2 separate regions of the Homo sapiens genome follow, and region 1 is linked to region 2. Evidence: promoter capture Hi-C in 16 types of primary human blood cells and fetal thymus (Javierre and others, 2016). All regions are on one chromosome and are shown on one strand. The core of a region is centred on a gene start or on the middle of the fragment in contact, and the rest is flanking DNA. Distances in the headings are between cores, read along the strand shown.

What was found. Contacts are between HindIII fragments. The CHiCAGO score rates a contact against its expected background, and 5 or more counts as called.
Region 1: a contact is called between a fragment that was not itself captured here and the fragment with the promoter of NSMCE1 in region 2, in 1 of 17 cell types (neutrophils). The highest score is 5.9, in neutrophils.

What each region holds. Positions count from the first base shown.
Region 1 is chr16:27,551,674-27,554,373 of GRCh38, forward strand. The region is part of intron 1 of KATNIP (katanin interacting protein); the gene reads left to right. Among named protein-coding and RNA genes, the nearest start is that of KATNIP, 2.9 kb to the left of the region's middle. The HindIII fragment of the contact is 4,528 bases long and covers 1-2,700 here.
Region 2 is chr16:27,267,414-27,270,244 of GRCh38, forward strand. NSMCE1 (NSE1 component of SMC5/6 complex) reads right to left here and starts at 1,359. Exons shown (of 8, transcript NM_145080.4): 1 at 1,293-1,359. It overlaps NSMCE1-DT (NSMCE1 divergent transcript), which reads left to right and starts at 792. Exons shown (of 5, transcript NR_037184.1): 1 at 792-831. RefSeq lists a silencer at 1,253-1,332. The HindIII fragment of the contact is 3,617 bases long and covers 1-2,557 here.

The DNA.
Region 1 (2,700 bases), core at 45-2,544, 280 kb after region 2:
CAGGAGTTCGAGACCAGCCTGGCCAACATGGTGAAACCTTGTCTCTACTAAAACTTAGCCGGACGTGGTGACACATGTCTGTAATCCCAGCTACTTGGAAGGCTGAGGCAGGAGAATCATTTGAAGCCGAGATCTTGCCACTGCACTCCAGCCTGGGCAACAGGGCGAGACTCTGTCTCAAAAAAACCCAATAATAATAATAATAATTGGCCAGGTGCAGTGGCTCATAATAATCATAATAATAATTGGCCATGTGCAGTGCCTCACACCTGTGATCCCAGCAGTTTGGGAGGCTGAAGTGGGTGGATTGCTTGAGCTCAGGAGTTCAAGACCAGCCTGGGCAACATAGCTAGACCCTGTCTCAAAAAAACTCCAACAACAATAAACCCATTACTTCTGAACATAAATAATATTTTTAATGGAAAACAATTACATTTGCCTCCAAAAAATTAATAGGAAGAGTAGCATTATTTTATGTTTTTTCAAGTTTATTCAATAGAAATAGAAAAAACTACTCTCATTTCTGCTTCAGGATTCAAACTGTTTTTTGTTATGCTGTTTTGGCTGGTGTGTATGAAGAAAATTTGGCCTCATACAAATATATAATTGGAGCAGAGAGAAACATTTTAATTGCCTTTTCAGATAACTGTAGACACTCTCCTTTCATACTATACAAAATTTAGCAAATGCCAGTTTCTTTTTTCTTTTTTTTTTTTTTTTTGAGAAAAAGTCTCACTGTCGCCCAGGCTGGAGTGCAGTGGCACGATCTCAGCTCACTGCAACCTCTGCCTGCTGGGTTCAAGCGATTCTCCTGCCTCAACCTCCCGAGTAGCTGGGATCACAGGTGTGAACCACCATGCCCAGCTAATTTTTTTTATTTTTAGTAGACATGGGGTTTCCCCATGTTGGCCAGCTGGTCGCAAACTCCTGACCTCAGGTGATCAGCCTGCCTCCATTTCCCAAAGTGCTGGGATTACAGACGTGAGCCACCATGCCTGGCCTGCAAGTGGCAGTTTTTTTTTTTTTTTTTTTTTTTTGAGACGGGAGTTTTGCCGTCGTTGCCCAGGCTGGAGTGCAATGGCCTGATCTCGGCTCACCGCAACCTCCGCCTCCCGGGTTCAAGCGATTCTCCTGCCTCAGCCTCCCAAGTAGCTGGGATTACAGGCATGTGCCACCACGCTCAGCTAATTTTGTACTTTTAGTAGAGATGGGGTTTCTCTATGTTGGTCAGGCTGGTCTCAAACTGCCAACCTCAGGTGATCCGCCCGCCTTGGCCTCCCAAAGTGCTGGGATTACAGGCATGAAGAACCATGCCAGGCCACAAGTGGCAGTTTCTTAAATGTTAGTCACAGTGTGTCATCTGAAGCCTTATAGGTGAACTTTTATACTGTGTTACATTAAAATCCATTGGTCTATCTTGCCCTTTCATTGGCTGCTTTACCCATATATGGTTTTATAACATCAGCCATTGGTCGTTTAGAAAATGTTGGTTCAGTGAGTTATGCAAATCTAAACGTTGACCTTTCAGATGCCATTATACGGTATTTAAAAAATCACATTTGTTAATATCACCACCTATTTCATTTTAAAAAGGAGTTTAAGTATTAGGAAACTATCAAACTCAAGGTAATGGAAACAAGTTTTCAACTTGTTTTCACTTGACAGCTTGAATTTTAACATTGGCAGCAAATATTGTCAGCTGTTTCCTTGAAGTGACAGACTCACTTATTTCATATTTGAGAAAATTTCTGCCAAATTCCCAAGACTGAATAACCAAAATTTGTCTATTATTTTATTTACTGCCATGTACTCACATTTAAAACAAACAAACAATTATTTTTATTTAAGAATGTCCTGATGGTTGGGTTCAGTGGCTCACGCCTATAGTCCCACCGCTTTGGGAGGCCAAGACAAGAGGATCTCTTCAGCCCAGAAATTCAAGACCAGCTTCGTCAACATAGTGAGACTCCATCTCTACTAAATAAATAAATAAAATAAATAAATAAATAAATAATAGTCAGGCATGGTAGCATGCACCTGTGGTTCTAGCTGCTAAGGAGACTGAGGTGTGGGGATCACTTGAGCCCAGGAGGTCAAGACCAGCCTGGGCAACTTAGTGAGACCCCATCTCTGTAAAAAGTAAAAAATTAGACAGGTATAGTGGCTCGTGCCTGTAGTCCCAGCCACTCAGGATCAGTTGAGCTTAGGAGGTTGAGGCTACAGTGAGCCATGACTGTGCCACTGCACTCCAGCCTGGGCAAAAAGACCTTGTCTAGAGAGAGAGAGAGCAGGGGGTGGGGTGGGGGGAGAGAGGAGAGAGAAAGGAAGGAAGGAAAGAAGGGAGGGAGAGGAGAGAGAAAGGAAGGAGGAAAGAAGGGAGGGATGGAAGAAGGGAGGGAGGAAGGAAGGAGGGAAGGTTTCTAGTACATTGTGGTAACATTGCCTTGATTCAGACTGCAAGCAGTTTTACCCACCATTGCTTTGTGTCATAAGTACAAATGTCAACACAGCCAGATGGGGTGGCTCACGCCTGTAATCCCAGCACTTTGAGAGGCCAAGGTGGGCGATCACCTGAGGTCGGGAGTTTGAGACTAGCCTGGCCAACATGGTGAAACCCTGTCTCTACTAAAAATACAAAAATTAGCTGGGCATGGTGGCACATAACTGTGGTCCCAGCTACTTGGGGGAGGCTGAGGCAAG
Region 2 (2,831 bases), core at 109-2,608:
AACTGAGACTAAGAGGGCACAAGGTGACACACAAGAGTTGGTGGCAGAGATAGACGTGACCATACAACAGCACAGTTCCTGTTTTCAAGGACACTCTCTATCCAGCGAGAGTGAGAAAAGTGAGTGAACAGAACAACTACAATCCAGGTCCCTCATCTGCAACCCTCAAATCTAAAAAGGTATGAATACTAGTGGATGATCGGATGCAGGGGAAAAAAAAAAAAAAGTCTGAATACCAAAACTTGTTTAAGTTGGAAAACTTGACCTGACTTAAGGTGAGGCTATTTATGGTTATTTATCCCAACAGTGTAAATATATGCATTTTTTTTTTTGAGACGGAGTTTCGCTCTTGTTGCCCAAGCTGGAGTGAAGTGGCACGATCTTGATTCACTGCAACCTCCGCCTCCCGGGTTCAAGCGATTCTCCTGCCTCAGCCTTCCGTCTCAGCCTCCCGAGTAGCTGGGATTACAGGCACGCACCACCACGCCCGGCTAATTTTTTGTATTTTTAGTAGAGACAGGGTTTCACCATATTAGCCAGGCTGGTTTCGAACTCCGAACCTCAGGTGATCCGCCCCCCTCAGCTTCCCAAAGTGCTGGAATTATAGCCGTGGGCCACCGCGACCAGGTCAATGTAATATATGCGTATCTTCATAACTTTAGCTGTGGAAAGGGTCGTGTATTTGATTACAAGCCGCTGCTCCAGCCCCCTCTGAGGGTGAAACCTAACATAGAACATAGGGACTTTACCTTTCCAAACTCCGAGAACTCCTCGATTTTAAACGCATCTGGCCTCGGGGCTGTAACATAAGCGGCTGCGGACTTGTACAAAGTAAGAAACTCCGTACACAAAACAGAGGGGAGCACGGAGGGCGGCGGGACAAAGAGGGTGGTCGGCAAAGGCTGTATTTTCCATAGATGTAATCACAGTTTGAATCGAATTTTATATTTTGCTTTTTCACCTGTTACAATGAAAAGTATCTTTACCTGTTAAATCGTAATTACGATTAAAAATATTTTTCACTAAATAGTAAGATTTTTAGATGTCTGCGTGTGTGTTGCGGGAGGACATCCCAGTCCGCTGTTTTCTGCGGCCCCTGTCTGGGCCTCAGTTTCCCCATCAAGAAGGGGGAAACCCCAAGACCCCAGTCCCCGAGTTCCACAGCCCACGGGGACCGACCCCGGGGCCGGACCCCACTGCCTGTCTCGCCCACCCCACCTTCCGTCCTCCCCTCGCCTTCCTTGAAGTCCCTCTTCTTTCCCCTCCAACCCCTAGCTCCCCACGTTACCCACCAGGGAGCCCAAGCGCATCCCAGGCCGCGCTAGCGGATACGGTCGCAAGGTGGACTCTTCTTCCTTTGAGGCGGGGCGAACGCGAACGCGGCGTTCCCATTGGTGGCCTGCGGCTTATTCGCCCGTCCGTTGAGTGACGCACTTCCGGTTCTCCGTTTGCGCCATTGCCCTGGTGGTTCCGCCTCGTGGGTTAGATCCCAAATTACGCCCGCTCTCGATCCTTAATAATGGGAAGGGGCTTCCACTTGTCGCCCTCCGCCTCCTGCACCTCAGTGACTTCCCTGACCAAGGAGGAAGAATTGGCGTGCAGCCTGGGCTTCCCTCAATGGCCACCATTCCGCTGGCACAATGTAGTGCCCTGCCCCGGGCCTCAGTTTCCCCATCTGTGGAACTGAGTGTGGCCTCGACGTCAAAAATGTGGACTCTGGTCCGGTCGCGGTGGCTCACGCCTGTAAGTAATCCCAGCACTTTGGGAGACCAAGGCGGGCCGATCACTTGAGGTCAGGAGTTCGAGACCAGCTTGGCCAACATGGTGAAACCCCCGTCCCTACTAAAAATACAAAAAGTAGCCGGGCGTGGTGGTGTGTGCCTGTAATCCCAGCTACCCGGGAGGCTGAGGCAGGAGAATCACTTGAACCCGAGAGGCAGAGGTTGCAGTGAGCCAGATCGTACCACAGCACTCGAGCCTGGGTGACAGAGCTCAAAAAAAAAGAAAAGAAAAATGTGGACTCTGTGGTCATAGAGCCTGATCTAGAATCCTGGCTCTGCCACTTACTAGTTGGCAGGCGCTTGGGCAAGTCACTGAGCCTCAGTTTCCTCTTCCATTAAATGAGGATATTAGTTCTTGCAAAATAGTGTTGGTGAGATTTACAAGAGATAATAACACCTATATCAGGTGCTTAGCATGGCCATTGAAAAGTGTCACATGGGAGTGCTGATTATATGTTAACTGTTATCTTACCTAGGGATTGTGAGAAAGCAAGTGAAATTACTCGTGGAAGTGAATGGACTGCTTTGAGTCTTCAAGGCGTTAATTTTCCAAACGTTTGAATTCTATCCCTGGTCTGAGAGCTAGGGATGCAGCCTAGCAAGGGAAACAGGTAACTAATATAGAACAGCAGTACCTGCAAATATCTGTCTCTGTGAGGATAGATCAAATCCAGGCTTGGTCACTCACCACCCCTGTGATCTTGGACAACCTCTTAACCTCTCTGGGCTTCAGTTTCATCTGCTAAGTGGGAAAGCAGTGGTGTGTGGTGATTAAAAGCTTCAGCTTTGGAGCTGGATGGTCAACATGGAATCCTGGGCCTTAAACTCAGTGTCTCTGAGACATAGGACAAAGTACAGTCAGCTGTCCATGTTTACAGGTTCCCCATCTACGGATTGAAGCAACTGTGGGTGGTTAATATTTGTGGGGGAAAACAGTAAAAAATAACAGTTCAACAATAAAAATAATACAGATTCCGAAAGCAATACAGCATAGCAATTACTTATATAGCATTTACATTGTATTAAGTATTGTAAGTAATTTAAAGATGA